Regions from separate parts of the Homo sapiens genome. Here all the other regions are linked to region 6. Evidence: promoter capture Hi-C in 16 types of primary human blood cells and fetal thymus (Javierre and others, 2016). All regions are on one chromosome and are shown on one strand. The core of a region is centred on a gene start or on the middle of the fragment in contact, and the rest is flanking DNA. Distances in the headings are between cores, read along the strand shown.

Region 1 (3,143 bases), core at 402-2,901, 1.1 Mb after region 6:
GTTCATACTCTGACTCGAACACTTACTTGCTGCATCACCTTCAGCAAACTAAGCAATCCCTCTGAACTTCACATGCTTTATTTGTAAATGGGGACTGGGCGGAACGGGGCGAAGGGAATTCTAGCTCCACAACGTGATGAGAATGAATGTCTGGAAGATGCTAGATACAATCCTGGCATATTTTCTTTGTTGAATAAATGGTATGATTGTCATTACATATAATATTTTCCATTGTCAAATAACAGGTTGACTTTCCTAGTTCTCTAACTTGGATGAAAATTCACATGTATTTAATTGACATTATTTGAGTTCCTGATCTATAAAAATAGCTAACACTTATTGAAAACTGATTACGCACCAACACAGTTCTGAATGCTTCACATAGTCCTACTCTACAGCTGGTGTCATTGAGGCATAGAGGTAGGTCAGATTACCCCAGGTAACTCAGCTAGGAAGTGATGGGGCCAGGTATGAAACCAAACAGTTTGAACTGTTAGCCATCTGCTATGTGGTCTCCCCGAGGGCCAGCGAAATACCTTCAAGGAGCTTATGAAGGCAACTGCCTCGTGGTGATGTAATAGCAATGCATTAAGATTATGTGAGCAGTACTCCTCTATAAAATAGAATGTCTATCAAAATGCTGGCCATTTTTAGGGTTTCCTGCCAAACTCCTTTTAACTATTTGGGGTAGCAGGGGATAACAATAACTTTACATATAATAAACAGTTGAATTCAACTTCCCTTAGTAAATAGCTTTTCAGACTTTTAAAAATTTAGTTTCTGAATGTGTCTTTGTTTTTTCATAATAACTAGTAACACTTAACTCTTCTATAAGTAATAGAATCTATTTAGTTTTGAAGAGTAGTGGATAGATTGCAAGCTCATTACCTAGTTTCACTTTCAACCAGAACTGGAAGAAATATTAAGTGGGACAATTACACTAAAAATATGCAAAGTATACATTTTAAGTATTTTATGTTCCAGAACAGCTGCCACATGTGATACTATAATCAATCTAATAGAAATAAAAGTCCACCTCTTCTTAGAACATAGGTTCTCCACTGGAGGCAGTTTTGCTCCCCAGGGGGATGTTGACAATGTCTGGACACATTTTTGGTTTTCACAGCGGGGGGAGAGAGGGACTGTGTGCCATTGGCCTCTAGTGGATAGAGGCCGGGGATGTTGCTAAACATCCTACAATGCAGAGAATCACCCACTGACGACAATGAATTTTTCTGTCCAAAACGTTAACAGTACCAAGATTTTGGAACCCTACCTTAAGAGTATACATAAGGTAATGCTTTTCTAAAAGGTCTGTGTTAGAGTTGCATATGTATCCAGCAACATGTGAGCCCTAGGACAGGGCTTTGCCCATAATACTCCCTCACTCATCTTTTGTTTATTGGATTGAGTAGAAAAGAACAAAATCCAGCCTCTACACCTTAAGATTATTGTCTATTCACTTTGCTTCAACACATTTCCAATGATGGCTTTGCACCTAAATCACAGTGGTTTGGTCAAGTTAATATTAGCTTCGCCACATGATTAAACTTCTCTTTTGCTTATAAATCACCATTTTGTATAGGGGAATTTCTGACTTCCCTTTAGTTATAAGAACAATTTAACATTTTCCATGCCAGGGGAATTGTAGGCATTACAAATACATTTTTTCCTCCTGTTCAAGGGCAGGAGTCCTCATTCACCGGTGTCACTAACTGACAACAGTCTTAAGAGTATACAAGTGGAAAATCAGCACTTTATAATCCTATAACATATGTGGATAGGCTATAGGAAACAAAGATAATTACATTTTATAACTGTAGTTTTCTCATTTGTGTTTATCCAGGTTGATTCTAAAGAAGAAAGAAAATCTATATGCATGAAAAGATGTCTTAAAAAGTTTTGAACTACTCAAAGTTAAGATTTGGGGAAATAGAAATAGTATATAACTTAAGAAAATTGCCACTGGCTGTGAACCCCCATGGCATTTTCTTTGCACTTTTTTGCTTCTCGTTAGATTGTATGTGTTTTTACCATTTCACACAAACTTTTAAAGATTATTCCACGCCGTTAGCTCTGTGCTTCTATTAGTGTCTCTATCTCTCTTTCTCTCTCTCTTCCATCTGAGTACAATGGCTAGAAAATAATACACACTTGAATGAATAAATGTCATTTAAATATTTTAATAAACAGAAGGAATAGTACAATATATTTCCCTTGACCAATGTATTGTGATTGCTTTTTTCTTTCTTTTTTTTTAAATCTTTTGCTGTCTTTGACCAAGCCAAAAGAGTTACAACCAAATTCAAAAAGCCACCCAACCCAAGATCAAAACTGGATGAGTCAAAAATGTGTGCTGTTCCTCCAAGAACTCATTGACATGCCAGTCTCTGACCTTCCTAGGATGAGGCCACAGCTCCCAGTAGCTCATGAACCTAGACTGGCATTCAGTATTTTAGGAGTTTCATTGCATCATCTGTCCATCCATCCATCCCTCCATTCCTTCAACCATGAAACAATTCACAGCAGTCTTAATGGCTCTTTTTTTAAAAGATTTGTTATAGAATTATCTCCTTCTACTTCCACTCTCAGTTAATCCCCACTCAGTGAGTCAGTGAATAAGATAGTAAGCCAGCATGGCTGGTGAGAAACCACAGGACAGAACAAAGCGGACCAGTTGGCAGGAGACTCTGTAGCCTGTTTTGTTAGCATTCAACTCTGCACCAGCTGCCCCCCACATGACCCTGCACACACTTCAGGGGTGCACATGATGACTGCTCCATGACAGGAAGAAAATATGAGAAATTCTACTTATAGTTAACTTTTTAGCCTCTAAAGTTTTCTACTTTGTTTATATTTTATAAAATATAAAATAATAAAATACTGTGAATATATACTTTATTTTTTAAAAATGCAGTGTTGTAGGAACATGTGGAAGAACTGTGTCCCAGGGGCCTTACATCATTCAAAAAGCGTCTGGAGTCCATTGCTGACCCAAAGACCCAGGTGACCCAGAGCCGTGTTTTGCAGGTCGCCTGTACCCTCAGTCCTGCTATCTGTTCCTTCTTTCCTATGGCACTGATATCACTGTTCGACATGTATTTCATGCCCAGTGTGTTGGGCACTGTGCTTGTGCCCGATAA
Region 2 (3,330 bases), core at 268-2,767, 1.3 Mb after region 6:
ATAAACTTAAAGTGCTAAAACAGAAGGCACTTCACAAAATCTGTTCACTGAAACAGTTATATATCCTCGTTTACATCCTTCACTTTACAAGTGGCAGTGAACGTCTGTTTGGATAGAAGGACATACAGAAATACAGGCAGTTTAGTGGCAGTAAAAATATAAGACAAGTAATGAGTCCTTGGCCAACTTGTTTTTGATGACCTGTAGTGTCCTTTAACTTTCCTCCTTAAGAAGAAAAAACAGAAGGATTCACAATTAGAAGAAAAGTTGAAATCCAGAATATAGTTACTTTTGGGAGTGGGGACGTTTGTGGATATTAAATCACTTATCCCCTAAAGCAATCAGAGCCCTTTGTTTTTATGGTTGAAGTTTTGTGAAGTAAAGAAAGTATTAGGGAAGAACACTTCAGAATCAGTGAACTAAAAAAGGTGTTACATTCATTATTTTAAATATTTAGGTTATTAAGAAGTCTAAAATGTTACACAGTTAGAGGTAGATAACAGTCCCAAGTTTCCATGGAATCTAATAATTTAGTATCTGGACATCAAACAGATCACAAACTCCTTCGTTATCATCTAAATTAAAGTTGTAGTCATCTGCCGGGGTAGGAGAAAGCCTTAAGAGAGGAAACACTGCGAACAAAAAACAAATTTAGTGTTAAAGATGGTTTCTACATACGGTTAATGATCTTTAACAAAATACTCTCAAATACATCATTCCAAATTAAAGTCTTGTGTAATGTGTATTTTGAAATATTCTCATTTAGTAACAATTTGTACATTGAATATTGATATTAGATTGAGAAACAGAAGTTAATTTTTTCTTTTTTTTTTTTTTTTTTTAAGATGGAGTCTCCCTGTTTCGTCCAGGCTGGAGTGCAGTAGCTCGATCTCGGCCCACTGCAAGCTCCCGACTCCCGGGTTCACGCCATTCTCCTGCCTCAGCCTCCCGAGTAGCTGGGACTACAGGTGCCTGCCACCACGACCGGCTCATTTTTTTTATTTTTTTATAGAGATGGGGTTTCACCATGTTAGCCAGGATGGTCTCGATCTCCTGACGTGATTCGCCCGCCTTGGCCTCCCAAAGTGCTGGGATTACAGGCATGAGCCATTGTGCCCGGCCTAGAAATTAAATTTTTTATTGGTTGAACTTATCACTAAGGTAATATAACTAAAAGGCACTAACGAGGCCAGGTGCAGTGGCTCATGCCTGTAATCCCAACACTTTGGGAGGCTGAGGCAGGTGGATCACCTGAGGCCAGGAGTTTGAGACCAGCCTGGCCAACATGGTGAAACCCCGTCTCTACTAAAAATACAAAAAGTAGCCAGGTGTGGTGGCAGGTGCCTGTCATCCCAGCTACTCGGGAGGCTGAGCCAGGAGAATCATTTGAACCTAGGAGGTGGAGGTTGCAGTGAGCTATCATGCCACTGCACTCCAGCCTGGATGACACTCCAGCCTGGATGACAGAGGGAGACTCTGCCTTAAAAAAAAAAAACAGAACACTAATGAAAGTGTTTTGTTTTCCACTTTGCAAACAGAAGAATGAACTGGACTTACAAAGTTTGCTGATGTTCTCTGCTTCTACATACATGTTTAGTACATCTCTAGTTACTATAACATTTGCTAACTTAACTGCTACCACTTCGTAGGTTTCTACTTTATTTGTTAGGTAGTAGGACTCTGATCCAAGAACTTACAGAAGGAGAGAAATTATTAAAGTAATTAGCATATTGTAGCTAACTGATATTTAATAATTTTTCAGGTTAGATGACAACATGGTTAATATTAATACTAATTCAGTGACTTCCCATTGGCAGCTTGAAATTGGCCTGGGTAGGGGTATTTACAAAGGCAGGTGTTCAGATCAGTTGCTTGATTTAGACAAGTTATTTTACTCTTCTTGGACCAGATCCTTCAGGAGTGGAAAGGGCTAACAGTTTATTTTCAATGAAGGTGAGAAGTATCCCCATATGGATTCCTTTCCCTCAAAATGCAAGCAAAGAAAAATAAATTCTGAAGGTTGCCTATTACTTACTGTAAGTGTTAAGGGAGAATTTTCATGAATCTTCATAGTAAAGCAGGTAGCAAATATATGTTCATTTCTTTTAAATCATGTTTCACTTATAAATTCCACAGAAGCATTACTGATAAGTGAGTTAGTAAAATTTTAACCTACTTACCGTCAGAAGACATTAACTCATCAATGATATCTCCACTAATAGATCCTGCTGGAAACAGTAATAAAGTTTTGTTATATTTCTGTTAACAGTAAAAGATACTCATATTTAAACACAAGTAGTCACAGCAGCAGCTTGACTGACATGCACATTTATTTAAAGTACTAGTACTTTGTGGACAGGTTGTTTTCATGAGCGCTTACTCTGTGCCTGGCATTACTTTTAAACTTCCAAACTCCAGACGAAGACCAAAAGACTCATTATCTGCCAGGCATGGTGGCTCATGCTTATAATTCTAGCACTTTGGGAGGCTGAGTGAGGTGGACGGATTGCTTGAGCTCAGGAGTTCAGACCAGCCTGGGCAACATAGTGAAATCCGTCTTTACAAAAAATACAAAAAAATTAGCCAGACATTCATGGCACGTGCCTATAGTCCCAACTACTTGGGAGACTGAGGTGGGAGGATCACTTGAGGCTGCAGTGAGCTGAGATCGCGCCACTGCATTCCAGCCTGGCTGACAAAGTGAGACCCTGCCAAAAAAAAAAAAAAAAAAAAAAAAAAAACAACAACAAACCTCATCATCATTCTACCAAAACTGACTCAGTTTTAGTCAGTAGTTTCATAATTCTCCCAGTTATTCAACCTTAAAACTTCAACATCACTTTCCATTCCTGTTAACTTTATCTCCAGATCTCACACATCAAATGTTATTTTGCCTACAGTGTTTCTCAAATCTGTTCGTTATTTCTCTTCCTGATCTCACTGTAATCACTGTTTTAGCCTTTTTATTTATTTATTTATTTTGAGACAGGATCTCGCTCTGTCACTCAGGCTGGAGTACATTAAGTGCTGTCAGGGCTCACTGCAGCCTTGACCTCCCAGGCTTGCAATCCTCCCACTTTGGCCTCCCTCCCCAGTAGCTGGGACCACAGGCACACGTCACAATGCCTAGCTAATTTTTAATTTTTTTTTTTTTTTTTTTTTTTAGAGATAGGGTCTCACTGTATTGCCCAGGTTGGTCTCAAATTCCTGGGCTCAAGCAGTGTACCTGCCTCGGCCTCCCAAAGTGTTGGGATTACAGGCATGAGCCCCACCACACTTGGCCCTTGTTTTAGCCCTAATGTTCTCTCAGTTGCATAACTGCAAACATCT
Region 3 (2,964 bases), core at 104-2,603, 1.2 Mb after region 6:
TCCACTGGCTGATCAAAACTGCTGAAGACCCTTGATCTAGTCCATCCCACCTGCACAGAAGAACAGTGTTCACAGAAGAGACTCTATGCCACTTGTGGAAAACTTATAACAAGATTACACATTTATAGAAGTATAGGTGAAGAGTAATCCAACGTTCAAGCAGCCTTGGCATTAGGAAATTTTAATCCAAACCTGCTTTCACCCGAGGCCACTTCTCCTTATTTTATGCCTAGCAGAGGTAGACTGCAGAGGGCTGAGCACAACTAATGTTTACTGTTAATGAATACTTCTCTGCCTTCTCTTCCCTAGCAGCAGCAAAAGCAAGGCCCAGTGGATTCAGTTTGGGACCCAGAGGATTAACAATGCCCAGAGCAGGTGGCAGAGCTGCTCCCACAGGGAATGGTGGCCAAGTGATGCACCTGGAAGGTAGGAGGAGGAGAGAGGGAGGTGAGGACAAAAGAGAAGAAATTATGAGACACCAAGTGCAAACTGACTTGACTCACTCATTACCACAAATGAGACACTCTTTGGGAATATTTAGAAATAGTTAGGAGAGGGAGACTTCGGAAGAGGCTGAAATCTTGCACTAGCAGGTGGGAGTAAAGTAATGGTCATGGTGCCTCATTGCCTCATCCGCTACCAGGTAGTGCAAATCAGCCTTTCTGATGCGACACCACCACCTGGTGGTTAAGATGAGGAACAAGTCACTGCTGTCTCTGCACCTTCCTTTTTCCTTTTTTAGGGAGATGAATGCTCACATAATTGTTTTCTCTTAAGGCTTCTTTAATTCCTGTTAAATACTCCTTCTCCTTTACTGCATATTCTCCCTTTCAAGTACTGACCAGTTACTGCAAGAACATTTTATTTTATTCTCTCCATCCTCTCCCTCACTCCCTTTCTCTGTTTCTCACCCTAGCGTGTTGTTCTGGAAGACAAGGTGCCCGTAATGAAGAGACTACCTGAGTACTGGGAAATATGGCATCTATCATATTGTGAGTAACGATCTTCACTATGAATCAGCTACTTGAAAGTAAGATTTATATTGTTGAACATTGCATGAAAACTTTTAGGAGGATTTCAAAGTACTACTGAAAACAGTTTGTGAATATATGCATGTGCATAGGTGCATTAACGTCTTAAAAACTGCAATATCTTTTAAGCATTTTTTAAGGAACACCCATGAACTCAATATAACATAAAAGCTGACATATAATTGTAGATTTACACCCAGTCTTCTATAGATGCACACAACTTATCCAGAAAATTAAGGATTATATTGTCAATGTATACGTTAGTTCAAATGTGCATGAAAAAATATGCATTGGTTAATTAAATAAACACCTATTGATGTCTATCATGAGTCAAACATGGTTTAGGTGCTAAAAACTCTTGATTAACAAAATGAAAAACACTTCCTTAAGGAGGTTACATTCTTGTAAGACAGACTGATGTTTAAAAATAAATAATATTATGTTAATGATGTTGTAAATGACATGAAAAATAATAAATCAGAGTAAGGGGAAAGAAAGTAACAGGGCTGCTACTTAGAAAGTGTGGTCAGGGAAGGCCTCTTTGAAGAGGTGACATTTGAATGAATGAGGAAGTGATTCATATGAGTATCTGAGGAAGAGCATTGCAGGCAAAGAGAATATCCACTGTAAAGACTTGAAAAGGCCTGGCAGAGGAAAAACGAGGGTGTCAAGACTGAAGAGTGGTGGATGGGACAGCAGGAGAGAAGGGGGGCAGGAGCCACAAGAGCACAGATCACAGAGTACTCTATATGCCATCATAGGCACAGCAGATTTTGTTCTGAGTCATAGGAAGTCACTGCAGTGTGGAGCTCAAATGGAGTGAAGCACTCTGACCTGCTTTTTCAAAGAATCACCCTGGCCGCTGTGTGAACAATGTAGGGGGTAAAGAGTGGAGCAGAGAGACCAGCTGAGAGCCATATTTTAAGACTAGCATCCACAGGACTTGCTAGCAGATTCAATCTGGGTGTGAGCGAAAGAGAGTACAGAGATGACTGTGAGTTTTGTGTAGCTAGTGGTGCCATTTACTGAGATGGAGCATCCTTGGGAAGGGAAGGTTGCAGGCACAACAAGGGGATGGGAAGCAGAATTGAGGGATCTGGACATGCTAATGTTGACATGTCTGTCAGACATTCCATGGAGCAGTCTTATAGGCAGTTGGGTATATGAGTTCCAAGTTCAGGGGAAAGATTGGGAATGGATATATATATCTGATATATGCTGATATACACACACACATATATATAGTATATATATTTGAATATATATACATATATATGATATATAGTATATACATCTGAATATATATATACACATATATATGATATATATATACACACACACACACGTGTATATATATATGTATACATCAACCATGTTTTTAAATGTCATTTAAAGTCATGGGGCTAGAAAAAAAAATTACCCAGGAAGTAAGTGAAGCAGAGAGAGAACAGACCAGAAAGGGACAGCTGGTGAGGAGGGAGGAAACCAGGACATTCACCTCAGAAGGCAAGTGAAGAGACAGAAACACGACATATACCCATGTCTGGTAAATAATTAAATTCAGGATTAGGCATTCACTATTTCTCTGATTCCCTGTCAAGCACTGAAGAGGAATGGAAGTGGGCAAGGGTGAAAAAGCATAGATAAATTTTGGTTTTGATTTACAACTTAGTTACAAAGTGTTTCATATGTAAGCTTACCTACATGAAATTATTACAGAACAAGAGTATGTAATTAAGTTTCACCAAGTCATTTGAAAGATGCTACCTGACCTAATGATAAGCTGACACATTCACAAGAAATATGAACTGTCTACAGAGACTCATTCAAGCATACTGAAATAGATATAGCTGAGATCTTTATCTTAAAAAAAGGTTAAAATGGAATATGTCCTCCTAGCCTTTTCAATCTTACTGATTTTTAACAAGCATAC
Region 4 (3,324 bases), core at 142-2,641, 1.3 Mb after region 6:
AAAAGGAAGCATCAAGACTATTTGAAAGGAAATACACTTGTATAAACATCAGATCAGTGTTGAAAAGTCCAGATAATTCATGCCAAAGTAATTCGGCTGTTAAAGAATTTAGTAGTTCCTTGGCCTAGAATGAATAAGTCAATGTCATTCTATTGCTGTCAACTCTTTGAAATATAACCACAGAGCGATATTAGGGGCATGACGGCATTCTGTCATCAGCTCTTGTAAGGTTTATCTATTCCTTTCTGTCCTCTAGAAAAGGAAGATTTGTTCCTTTTTTTTTTTTTTTTTTTTTTGAGACAGAGTCTCACTCTGTTGCCCAATCTGGAGTATAGTGGCACAATCTCAGCTCACCACAACCCCCGCCTCCCGGGTTCAAGTGATTCTCCTGCTTCAGCCTCCTGAGTAGCTGGGACTACAGGCATGGACCACCACACCTGGCTAATTTTTGTATTTTTAGTAGAGACGGAGTTTCACCACGTTGGCTTTGAACTCCTGACCTCAGGTGATCCACCTGCCTTGGCCTCTAAACGTGCTGTGGTTACAGGTGTGAGCCACCATCCCCCTGGCCGGACAGTTTGTTCTATGAAAAGCAGTACCCATATCCCCATCTCACCACCGAGGAAGGTGTGATTTACCCTCATTCCAAGAAATTCTGACCTGGTTGCCACCATTTCACTACTGAAAGCTTGCTGCACTAGCCCTATGTGCCTAGCAAAACCTTGCACTCTTGCCAAACATATAATATTTTATCCCTTACAGCCTCCATTGCCAACTCCATTCACTCTTCTTTATTATTGCCATCAGCATACTAACATGTTCTGGAATTTCTTCTCATTAGCAGGAAACTTTCTTCCTGAATTTACATTTTCCATTTGCTACCCACCCATGCTCTCTGGAATTCCTTGGGTTCTTCTTTCTATACTCAACTGTATTATGTATTAGTTAGGGTTCTCCAAAACCATGTATACGTATTGAGGGAGAAAATGAGATTTATTATTAAAAATGGCTCACTTCATTATGAAGCCTGACAAGTCCCAAGATATTCAGAGTGAGTAGGCAAGCTGGAGGCTGGAGACCCAGGAGAGCTGATGGTGTAGTTTCAGTCCAGAGCCCAGCAGGCTCAAGACCCCAGGTAAAGCCATTGTTTCAGTTTGAATCCTAGAGTAGGAAAAAGCCGATGCCCTATCCCAAAGACAATCAGGCAGAAGGAAGTTTCCCTTACTTGGAAGAGGGTCAGCTTTTTTTTTTTTTCTATTCAGGCTTTCACTGATTAGATAAGGCCCAGCTCCTTAGGGAGGCAGTCCGCCTTAGTCCATCTACTGGTTGAAATGTTAATGTCCTCCAAAAACACCCTCATGTAAACATCCAGAATACTGTTCTACCAAATATCCGAGCACCTCATGGCCCAAATTGACACATACAATTAATCATCACACCAACCTTTAAATTTGGGGGTTTGGGGCCTATAATCTCTCCTCTCTCTACACTCTCCTCCTAGGCCCTTCCATCAGTTCTTATGGAAGTAATCTACCTAGCTTAGACATCCATTCCAGAACTGTCCAAGTGCTAAGCATATATGTTACTTAAATTTTTGACTAGGTACACTTTAAAAACTAAAAAGGAAAGTGAAATTATTCTTAATGATATATATTATTTAACCTAATACATCAAAAATATCATTTCAACATTAGTCAATAAAAAAAAAAAAATTAATGCACTCATGCTTGAAATCCCAGCACTTTGGGAGGCCGAGGCAGGCGGATTGCCTGAGCTCAGGAGTTCGAAACCAGCCTGGGCAACATGGCGAAACCCCGTCTCTATTAAAAATACAAAAAGTTAGCTGGGCATGGTGGTGGGTGCCTGTAATCCCAGCTACGCGGGAGGCTGAGGCAGGAGAATCGCTTGAACCCGGGAGATGAAGGTTGCAGTGAGCTGAGATCATGCCACTGCACTCCAGCCTGGGTGACAGAGTGAGACTCTGTCTCAAAAAAAATAAAATAAATAAAAATTAATGAGTGTTTCAGTTATCAATTTATTGTCTTTCACGTCTAATTTTACCCTGCATTACCAGCTCTGTGATAATGAAGCTTTAAGCATTTCTTTTTTGCAGCAAGCATAATGTTAAGCTTTCTTCAGTAGAAGGTCATTGCTGGAGAAAGGAACTTCTCTTCCTGGTTCCTGAATGCTGTGTTTTTTGTTTTATTCTTGTTCCTGCTGGGCTGCTTTCAGCAGCCACATGTGGCCGTGTATAGAGACATCCAGGCACTCCGGCCCAGCAGCACACTCAAGAGTATGCAGTCTCTCAGTAAGCTGACAACCCTAGCCCTAACCCAGTGACCACCTCACTGCCCCTCCCAAAACAAACCCCACATACTCCAGGCCTCATGCCACCCTATTGGCAAGCAGATGCCCCAACTCCCTCTGCATACCTGCCCACCAGCCCTAGTCTGCCTGCACCCCAAAGAGTGTTTCCCATGGCCTCCTGACATGGACACTGTCCACTCTAGGCTATGCATCTGTCAGCCAGAGTTGTTCCCAATGCTTTGAGTCCCTCTGCATACCTGTAGTCTTGCACACCAGTCTTAGCCCACCTGTACCCTGTTTCTCGCTTGTCTAGTAACTGTGGACCAGCTCAGACCTGGACAACCCAGCAAACTTCTCTGTCATCCACTGGGTTGCAACCGTATCTTCTCCAGTGATCTGAATCCCTTTGGAACGGAGGCTGGCATCCAAGTTTGTCCCTCATTAGAAACTTCCTTAGCCTCGGGATATTGTTTAGAGTTATCTTTTACATCTTTATAGTTGCCCCATTATACTTAATAATTCTTTACAGTAAACTTTCCCTGTTCAAATTACTGTGTGATTTGTCTCCTGATTGGATCTTAACTGATACTATCATTTATCTTTTACCTTCTTTGTTCTTACAAAGAGTTCCAAATCTGGTGTACATTTTATTCTGACAGCACATCTCAATTCAGGGTAGCCACATTACAAGAGCTCAATAGCCATATGAGGCTAGTGGCTATTATGCTGGCGGCACAGCTCTAGATCTACTGAATTAGATCCAATGACTTCAACTTAAATTGTTCACATGGAATTATACAGTTTTTCCCTGTCCCAACTTCCCTGTCACATTTCTATCTCATCCAATGGTACCACCATCCACCAGATGCACAAACCAGAAACTTCATAGTCACATTAATTTCTGATTTTCTCTTTTTCTCTTCACCTCTAAGTTTTGTCAGTTTTAACTCCTAAGCAATCAGTTAATTTCACAGACACAAAAAAATACTCCACTATACTATAAGCCTAAAACAAAAT
Region 5 (2,871 bases), core at 10-2,509, 1.4 Mb after region 6:
GCCCTCACGTATCAATCATGACCTTATGCAAATGGAATAAATTTTCCACCTGGAAGATATAGCTTGAATTAATGGATTAAAAAATGACCCAACAATAGTCTGCTTAGAAGAAACTCATCACACTTGTAAAGACACATATGGACTGAAAGTAAAGGGAAGAAAAAAGATATTTTATGCAAATGGAAACCAAAAGCCAGCAGGAATAGCTATATGAATATTAGATACAATAGACTGTAAGTTAAAAATAGTAAAAAAGAGACAAGAAAGGTCACTATGTAATGATAAAGGGATCGGGCACAGTGGCTCATGCCTGTAATCCTAGCACTTTGGGAGGCCGAGGCGGGTGAATTGCCTGAGCTCAGGAGTTTGAGACCAGCCTCGGTAACACGGTGAAACCCCGTCTCTACTAAAATGCAAAAAATTAGCAGGGGCTGGCTGCGTGTGCCTGTAATCCCAGCTACTCAGGAGGCTGAGACAGGAGAATCACTTGAACCCGGGAGGTGGAGGTTGCAGTGAACTGAGATCGCACCACTGCACTCCAGCCTGGGCGACAGAGTTAGACTGTCTCAAAAAAAAAAAAAAAAAATCAATTCAGCAAGAGGATATAACAATTCTAAACATATATGCACTCTACACCTAGGCACCCAGATGTATAAAGCAAATATTATTAGATTTAAAGAGAGAGAGAGAGATTCCAACAGGATAATAGTTGGGGATTTAAGCACCCCATTCTCAGTATTACATAGATCATCTAGACAGAAAACAAACAAACAAACAAAAAACATTTAATTTAAACTGCACTTTATACCCAATGGATCTAACAGAAATTTGCAGAAAATTTCATCCAAGAGCTAGAGAACGCACATTTTTCTCATCAACATAGGGAACATTCTCCAGGACAGACTACATGTTAGGACACCAAAAATGGCTCAACAAAATTTTTAAAAATAAATAATGCTAAGTGTCTTCTCAGACTCCATTGAAACAAAACCAGAAATCAATTACAAGAGGAACTTTAGAAACTGCACAAATATATGGAAATTAAAGAACATGCTCCCAAATTATTGAGCAAGAAAGAAATTAAAGAGGAAATCAAAAAATTTTTTAGACCAGTAAGAACCAAAACACAACATACCAACACCTCTGGGGTACAGCAAAAGCAATGCTAACTGGGAAGCTTATAGTAATTAATGCCTTTATCAAAAAAGTAGAAAGATTTCAAATAAACAATTTAATGTTACACCTCAAGGAACTAGAAAAGCAAGAAGAATCCCAACCCAAAATTAGCAGAAGAAAAGAAATCATGAAGATCAGAGCAGAGCTAAATGAAATAGAAGCTTAAAAAAATACAAAGGATCAACAAAACAAAATGTTTTTTTTAAAAAAATGATGAGCAAAATTGATAACAAACAAAATTCACTAGCTAGACTAACCAAGAAAAAAAGAAGATCCCAGTAAACAAAATAAGAAATGAAGAAGAAGGCATTAAAACTGATGCCACAGAAATACAAAAGAGTGTCAGAGACAATTATGAACAACTGTATGGTAATGAACTGGAAACCCTAAAGGAAATGGGTGAATTCCTTGATACATACAATCTACCAAGGTTAAACCAGGAAGAAATAGAAAACCTAAACAGACCAATAATTAGTAGCTAGAATCAGTAATAAAAAGTCTTCCAACAAAAAAACTCCAGGACTGGATGGCTTCATGCTGACTCCCACCAATTTTTCAAAGAAGAACCAAAGCCAATTCTCTTCAAGCTATTAAAAAAATTGAACATGAGGGAATTCTCCCTAACTCATTCTACAAGGCCAGCATTACATTGATACCAAAACTAGACAGGGATGCAAAAAATAAAGAAAACTACAGGCCAACATCCCTGATGAACAGATGCAAAAATCCTCAATGAAATCCTCAATGAAAACTGAATCCAACAGCACATCAAACAGATACTAGATAATCAAGTGGGATTTATTCCAGGGATGCAGGAATTGTTCAATATATGTAAATGAACACATGTGATACATCATATCAACAGAATGAAGGACAAAATCCATAAGATCATCTCAGTAGATGCAGAAAACGCATTAGATGAAACTCAGTCTTTTCATGATACAAACTCTCAACAAACTAGGCATAGAAAGAACATACTTCAATATAATAAAGGCCGTATATGAAAAACTCACAGCTAACATCATCCTGAATGGGAAAAAGTTGAAATCCTTTCCTCTAAGAACTGGAACAAGACAAGTGTGCCCACTTTCAGCACTCTTATTTGACATACTACTGGAAATTATAGCTAGACCAATCGGCAATATAAAGAAATAAAAAGACATTGAAATTGGAAAAGAGAAAGTCAAATCGTCCCTGTTTGCAAATGGCATAATCTTATATCTAGAGAAACTTAAGGACTCTACCAAAAAACTCTTAGATCTGATAAATAAATTCAGGAAAGTTGCAGCATAGAATTTTAACATACACAAATGTAGCATTTCTATACACTAATAATGAACAAGCTGATAAAGAAACCAAGAAGGCAATCCCATTTGCAATAGCTATAAAAATAAAAGACTTAGAAATAAATTTAGCCAAGGATGTGAAAGGCAGCTTTTCTCTGCAAGAAAAGCTACAAAAGACTGATGAGGGAAATTGAAGAGGACACAGTCAAACAGAAAGCCATCTCAAGCTCATGTATCAGAAGAATCAACCTTGGCAAAACGACCATACTGCCCAAAGCAATCTACAAATTCAATGCAATTTCTATCAAAATGCCAACGTCAATTTTCACAGAAATAGAAAAAAGAATCATAAAATTGGTGTATAGAATCAACAAAGGGCTTGAATAACCAAAGTAATCCTGAGCAAAAA
Region 6 (2,870 bases), core at 263-2,762:
CTTACAACAGAAAATACTAGGAATATAATATGTGTATTATAGGTAAGATATGTAAAGAAAGATAAAGCAAATGTGAGAAAAAGGTAACAATGGCTGAATCTAGCTGAAGAATATATGGGAGTTCCTGCAACTTTTCTTAGGATCTAATTTTTTTTTCAAAGCTAAAAACTTAATTACAAATTCACTCTAGCAGAGATATCAGAAACTTAATTTCACTGTTATCATGGTATCCAGTGGCATAAACATTTAGCAATGTTGAGGGGGTAGCTGCCAGTAGAAATGCATAAAATAAAAGTGATTCTGTCTTTGGGAAAAAACAGCTAGGTTTCAGAAGTTGGGAAGGAGATCTATATATTTTTAAAGATAGACTTTAAAGACATAATCCTAAAGAAATACAGCTGATTTAATGGGACTAGTGGAGGTAGCAATCATATAGTAGAAGGAGCACTGGACTCAGAGTAGAAAGACATGGATTCCTGTCTTCTAACATATCCTTGGTTAGGTTAATACATCTCTTTGAGTTACAGTTTTTTCATTTGTAAACCTGGGATACCACTTACTTCACAAGGTAGTTCGGAAGATCAATACGACTATGTATTAATTCCCTATACAGTATTAAAAGTACCATAGAAATGCAACCTAATTTTTTAAAACCATGACTCGCCTCCCTTATTACCCATAAGATTTTTCGTTAAACCCATATAGTAGGTACTCCCTTTGCAGTCTGTGTTTCCACCCACCCTGATCAGGCCTCAAGTAGGATCCAAAATTTCTTCATTTTCCCACAAAAGAATTCCACTCGAGCAAGAAATTTTATTTTACTCGAGTAAAATAAAATACTTTGCTCGAGTAAGTAAAACATCTTATTGAAGAATTTTAGGGGAGACCAGGGTTTGTTTTTGTTTCTGTTTTTTACTACACATGCCCTAGCATTCAAGGGCATCAGTATCCTTTCCAGAGGCCTCCTCCCGCTAGTTCCTCTTCCCAAAACGCTTTGCATTTTTTGTTTCTTTGCTCTGGACTCTCTCTTGAATCTACCCCCTTGAGTCGCTCAGTCGAAGAGACTGAGACTTTCCCTTCTTCATGTTGGGCAACATAATTCTTCCAATTATTTACTTCCAAAAAAGACCCACTAGTACCAAGATTCAATCTACTTTTGAAGGCAGCAGATAATTAAAATGACAATTTTTTTTCTGGCATACTTGTATTCTCGGGTCTATTTCCGAGCTTTCAGTTCTATTCTGGCGACGAATCCTTGTGCCCAAACCATGAAAGACCCCCTAGAGAGATGGAGCAGAAACAAGTCAGAGCGCCTGAAGAGAGCGCTCTCACGGCCTCAGTCCTGGACGCAGGCGCGGAAAGTCCATTAAGTCCCACCCAATCGGGGTATTTCCCACCCCCTAAGCCCGTGCACCGGAAACCATGGGGGCGGAAGAGGTGCTGGGCAGGAGGCGGAAGAGGTGCTGTGCAGGAGGCGGGCGGGCGCGGTTCTTTCCGGAAGGATTGAATCTCCTTTAGCCCCGCCCGCCTCCGTAGCTGCCTGAAGTAGTGCAGGGTCAGCCCGCAAGTTGCAGGTCATGGCGCTGGCTGCTCGACTGTGGCGCCTTCTGCCTTTCCGACGTGGAGCCGCCCCGGGGTCTCGTCTCCCTGCGGGGACTTCGGGCAGCCGCGGGCATTGCGGCCCCTGTCGATTCCGCGGCTTCGAGGTACCCCCGTGGTCCTGGCTCCCGCTCCTCACTTCCTACTCAGTGGGTTCCGGCTCCCCCTTAACTTAAGTGGTGGCGGCCCCGCGCTGCCTAAGGAATGTGGTGAACCGAGGAAAGAACTCGGGGCCACTGTGCCTGGAACGCCCGGACAGGTCCCTTCCATTTTGCAAACCTCCACTATCCTTAACTGGGGCTGTCAGAGAAGGAGTGGGGTTTGCCCCCACGCGCCCCAGAAGCTGCCTGCTACCCGCCCTTCTTGTGCGAAATGTAAAACAGGACGGGAAAGAACCTTGACCGCTGTGAAATTATTCTCCCTGTAGGCGATGACAGATACAACAGCGCTTGAGGCTGCCCCTTTCAGACTTTGAAAAGTGTGGTGTGTGATTTAAAAAGTTCTACGACTCAGAAGCAGAGATTTCATACTGTTTAGGTTTTTGTTTAAAAATGTTTATTTCTCAGTTGCCCGTTGTATCTGCATAACGTCAATGAAGGTTGTCGGCATGTTGTAGTCTCAGTTCTGGTATTTCTATTAGACTGCTCGTGGGCCTCTGTTTATTCTTGTCAGGGAATTGGAATGGCATTAATGCATATGATATATTTCACATGAACTAGGGGTTTCATTATTTTAAACTCAAATTTTTAACTGCTCAGTTAAAATCTTTCAGAATTATTATGGGACTGATGGTGGGGAGGGGTGGTTAAAATTTGGCATATTCCCCTTCCTTGGAAGTTTATAACCAAATGGGGAGGTTATAGATAATATAGGCAGAGAGATGGGAGGAGTTCTAAGTATGAAACTAGTTAGCCGTAAGTTTTCAAATTGGAACAATGATGAGTTTGAAGTCCCATTTTAGGCCTGGCCCCTTGGCTCAGCCTGTAATCCCAGCACTTTGGGAAGCCGAGGCGGAAGGATTGCTTGAGTCCAGGGGTTTGAAACCAGCCTGGGCAACACAGTGAGACCCTGTCTCTACAAAAAAATTTAAAAGTTAGCCATGTACATTTTTATATGTAGTAATTACTATATATGATAATCTTGTCTGTAAGATTCATTTTTATTATGTGTTGGTGTCTCATATTTTACTTCATACAATTTGCAATATCCATGCATTTGCAAATAAGTTGTAGCAAATAAGTTGTAGCTCTTCCTTTCCAGCAGGAGTGTGA
Region 7 (3,171 bases), core at 410-2,909, 1.3 Mb after region 6:
CCCAACAAACACTTCAATGTAGCATTTACTATGTGCCAGATACTGTTTAAGTGCTTTAAAAATAAAAACTCATTTTGATAACTTCTTTAATCATAACCACCTGTGGTAGGTAATATTATTGTCCCATTTTTGGAAAAGAGGAAACCAAGGCTGAGTAACTTGCCCAAGGGCACTAAATATTGTAAAGTCAGGACATAAACTCAGAGATACCATGCTACTTCTGATGCTGTGAGATGGTTGGTCACAATCATATGCTGCTACTGGACTGAAAACTAATTTCATCTTTTTGCAATTTGACAACATTAAGTAAAGGACTTAAAAACTATTATTATGCTCTGCTCCAGTAATTCTTTAGTATAAACTGTCTAAAAGCCCAAAATGTTTTCTGGAACATTAATTACCTCTGTTACTAAAACCAGTGGACACTATTAAGTCCTGTTGCATCCTCTGTAGCACTCGACACTGGTTGGCTACTCCCTCATCGTTCTCTAGTCTTGGTGTTACCATACCCTCAGACTTTTCTCTTGTCTTATTTTCCCTTTCTTCTGCCCTCTGCTACTGAACTACTAGTGTTTCAGAGTTCCATTCTTGTTCCTCTTTTTGCTAAAAACCATTTTCCTTACATAAACTTCATAAATCAACCATATCCAAGTCAAACAGGAAGCCCTCAACTTTATCTTGGGTTCCAAACCTATAATTCCGATAGGCTGCCAGAGACCTACCCTAGGATGTCCCACAGGCATCTTATTCATGTCCAGAACTGAATTTACCATTCCTCTCAATTCTTTCTCCCTTTTGATAACTTCTAAGTGAAAATCACCACTATCTACTCCATTTACCAAGCCAGCAATATGGCAGTCATTGATAATTTTTCCTATTCCCATAGACTCCGCACCAGGTTCTGTCACTTCCACTTTCCTATTCCCATAGACTCAGCACCAGGTTCTGTCACTTCCACAATGTGAAGTCACCAGAATCTCTCCATTTCTTATTGTCCCTGCCTCTAACCTAGTTTAAGCCTGTAAATCTGCTTGCAATCCAATATTCTCTTCACACAACAGTCATCTGATTTATAGCCTCTCAAATGTACCCACATGTTTCTCTACCTCTTGGCTCTGACATACACTGTCTTGCTGACTAGGAATGTCCTCTCACTTAACTCAAAACTAATAGCTATTTGTTGAAAGCTTATAATGGACTGGCTGGGTCAGCATTGGTAACACAGAAGACAGTCCCTGGCCTACAGCGAAACATGGGCAAACAAAGGAATAAATAATTCCATATTGTGATAAAGGATAGTAAGGCAAAAACCCAGGCTGCTGAGAATAAGCAGGAACCTACTTCAGTCACTTCAGATTAAGGAGAGTCAGGACAAGCATCTGTATACACTGTATTCCCTTAGTTTCCATTGCTAACTGTCACAAATGACCAGAAATGTAGTTGTTTAAGACAAAACAAAATTTTTAAATAAAATTGGTAATTAAAAATCATATATATTGTTTACAAAATGTTGTTTTGATATATGTATACATTGTGGAATGGCTAAATCAAGCCAGTTAACATGCTTTATCTCACATACTGATCATTTTTTTTGTGTGTGGTAAGAACACTCAAATTCTATTTTCTTAGCAATTTTCAAGAAGGCAATACATTGTTATTAACTATAGTCACCACGATGTGCATTAGATCTCTCAAATTTATTCTTGTCTAACTGAAATTTTGTATCTTTTGACCAACATCTCCCCAAGCTCCTGGTAACCACCATCCTATTCTTAGATTCTATGAATTTGACTATTTTAGATTCTATATATGAGATCATGTGTCTTTCTGTGCCTGGCTTATTTGCTTAGCAAAATATCCTCCAAGTTCTTCTATGGCGTCAAAAACTGACAGGATTTCCTTTTTTTTTAATGGTTGAATAGTAGCACAAATTTATTATCTTATAGTTCTATAGATCAGAAGTCCAAAATGGATCTCACTGAGCTAAAATCAAAATATTGATAAGGCTGTGCTCCTTCTAGATGCTCTAAGGAAGAATCGATTTCTTTGCCTTTCCAGCTTCTAGAGGCTATCACACTTCTTGGCTCATGACCCCTTCTTCCAACAGCAGAAAGGTCATTTTCAAGCTTCCACCTCTTTGGTTCTCACTCTCTTCTTCCTTCTTCCACTTTGAAGAACTTTTTGATTACAACAGGCACAGCCAGATATTCCAGGAAAAATCTCCACATCTTGGCTGGGCACGGTGGCTCATGCCTGTAATCCCAGCATTTTAGGAGGCTGAGGCGGGCAGATCACTTGAGGTCAGGAGTTCGAGACCAGCCTGACCAATACGGTGAAACTCCATCTCTACTAAAAATACAAAAATTACCTGGGCATGGTGGTGGGCATCTTTAGTCCCAGCTACTAGGGAGGCTGAAACAGGAGAATTGCTTGAACCCGGGAGACGGAGGTTGCAGTGAGCCGAGATCACACCACTGCACTTCAACCTGGGTGACAGAGCGAGACTCCATCTCAAAAAAAAAAAAAAAAAAAAAAAAGGAAAAATCTCCCCATCTTAAAATCAGCTGATTAGCAACTTTGACCTTAGTTCCCCTTTCCTATGTAACTGAACATATTCACAGGTCCTGGGAATTAGGACATGACCATCTTTGAGGGACCACTGTTCTGCCTACAAAAACATCTAAAAGAAGGAAAAAAAAAAACTAAGACCAGACGGTTTGGAGAAGTGGCCAGTTGTGTGTTTGTGTATGTGTGGTGCAGTGGTGGTGGTGGGGTGTGTGTGTGTGTGTTTTCACACACGTGCAGAAGTCCATTTCAGGCAGCAGGAAACACCTGTGCAGCAGCCCTGAGGCAGGAGGAGAGGGCATGTGAGAGTGCTGAAAGACAGTCAGTGAGACTGGAGTCATCTAAGAGGGAGTGCATAGACGAGGTGGCAGAGGAAGGAGGGCCAGACTAGGCAGGATCTTGTAGGTGTCTGAACGTTGTTCTAAGTAGAGGTATAATATAACCTTAAATTCTTAAATTGTATATATATTGATGACATCTGGCTTTTGAGTCCCGGAGTTCCTAGGTCAGCTCCCAGCTACTCCCTGAAGCGTAAGGCTCAGGTAGGTGCTTCCAAACACCCCTCACAGTGTGAAAAGCGTGGAACTGCCCATTTCTCTGACTTTT

The links. Contacts are between HindIII fragments. The CHiCAGO score rates a contact against its expected background, and 5 or more counts as called.
Region 1: a contact is called between a fragment that was not itself captured here and the fragment with the promoter of RMDN1 in region 6, in 2 of 17 cell types (total B cells and naive B cells). The highest score is 8.6, in total B cells.
Region 2: a contact is called between a fragment that was not itself captured here and the fragment with the promoter of RMDN1 in region 6, in 4 of 17 cell types (neutrophils, naive CD8 T cells, naive CD4 T cells and 1 more). The highest score is 8.2, in neutrophils.
Region 3: a fragment that was not itself captured here is called in contact with the fragment with the promoter of RMDN1 in region 6 in 2 of 17 cell types (M0 macrophages and naive B cells); the score reaches 7.4 in M0 macrophages.
Region 4: a fragment that was not itself captured here is called in contact with the fragment with the promoter of RMDN1 in region 6 in 4 of 17 cell types (neutrophils, total B cells, non-activated CD4 T cells and 1 more); the score reaches 10.7 in neutrophils.
Region 5: a fragment that was not itself captured here is called in contact with the fragment with the promoter of RMDN1 in region 6 in 1 of 17 cell types (total B cells); the score reaches 5.9 in total B cells.
Region 7: a fragment that was not itself captured here is called in contact with the fragment with the promoter of RMDN1 in region 6 in 2 of 17 cell types (total B cells and naive B cells); the score reaches 9.2 in total B cells.

The regions. Positions count from the first base shown.
Region 1 is chr8:85,455,567-85,458,709 of GRCh38, reverse strand. The region is part of intron 2 of CA3-AS1 (CA3 antisense RNA 1); the gene reads left to right. Among named protein-coding and RNA genes, the nearest start is that of CA2, 6.9 kb to the left of the region's middle. The HindIII fragment of the contact is 4,794 bases long and covers 1-3,143 here.
Region 2 is chr8:85,211,055-85,214,384 of GRCh38, reverse strand. E2F5 (E2F transcription factor 5) reads right to left here. Exons shown (of 8, transcript NM_001951.4): 7 at 2,181-2,228; 8 at 1-632. The coding sequence ends at 523. RBIS (ribosomal biogenesis factor) reads left to right here. Exons shown (of 4, transcript NM_001099673.3): 4 at 1-337. Among named protein-coding and RNA genes, the nearest start is that of RBIS, 7.7 kb to the left of the region's middle. The HindIII fragment of the contact is 4,250 bases long and covers 1-3,330 here.
Region 3 is chr8:85,295,288-85,298,251 of GRCh38, reverse strand. No RefSeq gene overlaps it. Among named protein-coding and RNA genes, the nearest start is that of CA13, 51 kb to the right of the region's middle. The HindIII fragment of the contact is 2,750 bases long and covers 1-2,728 here.
Region 4 is chr8:85,233,000-85,236,323 of GRCh38, reverse strand. All of the region lies in intron 3 of LOC124901969 (a long non-coding RNA gene), which reads right to left. The region is part of intron 1 of LOC105375936 (a long non-coding RNA gene); the gene reads left to right. Among named protein-coding and RNA genes, the nearest start is that of CA13, 11 kb to the left of the region's middle. The HindIII fragment of the contact is 1,402 bases long and covers 691-2,092 here.
Region 5 is chr8:85,101,995-85,104,865 of GRCh38, reverse strand. The region is part of intron 1 of LOC105375933 (a long non-coding RNA gene); the gene reads left to right. Among named protein-coding and RNA genes, the nearest start is that of LRRCC1, 3.8 kb to the left of the region's middle. The HindIII fragment of the contact is 160 bases long and covers 1,180-1,339 here.
Region 6 is chr8:86,507,328-86,510,197 of GRCh38, reverse strand. It overlaps RMDN1 (regulator of microtubule dynamics 1), which reads left to right and starts at 1,512. Exons shown (of 10, transcript NM_016033.3): 1 at 1,512-1,706. The coding sequence starts at 1,578. RefSeq lists an enhancer at 1,598-1,767. The HindIII fragment of the contact is 14,106 bases long and covers 1-2,870 here.
Region 7 is chr8:85,189,864-85,193,034 of GRCh38, reverse strand. The region is part of intron 1 of E2F5 (E2F transcription factor 5); the gene reads right to left. Among named protein-coding and RNA genes, the nearest start is that of E2F5, 14 kb to the right of the region's middle. RefSeq lists an enhancer at 3,086-3,155. The HindIII fragment of the contact is 939 bases long and covers 1,190-2,128 here.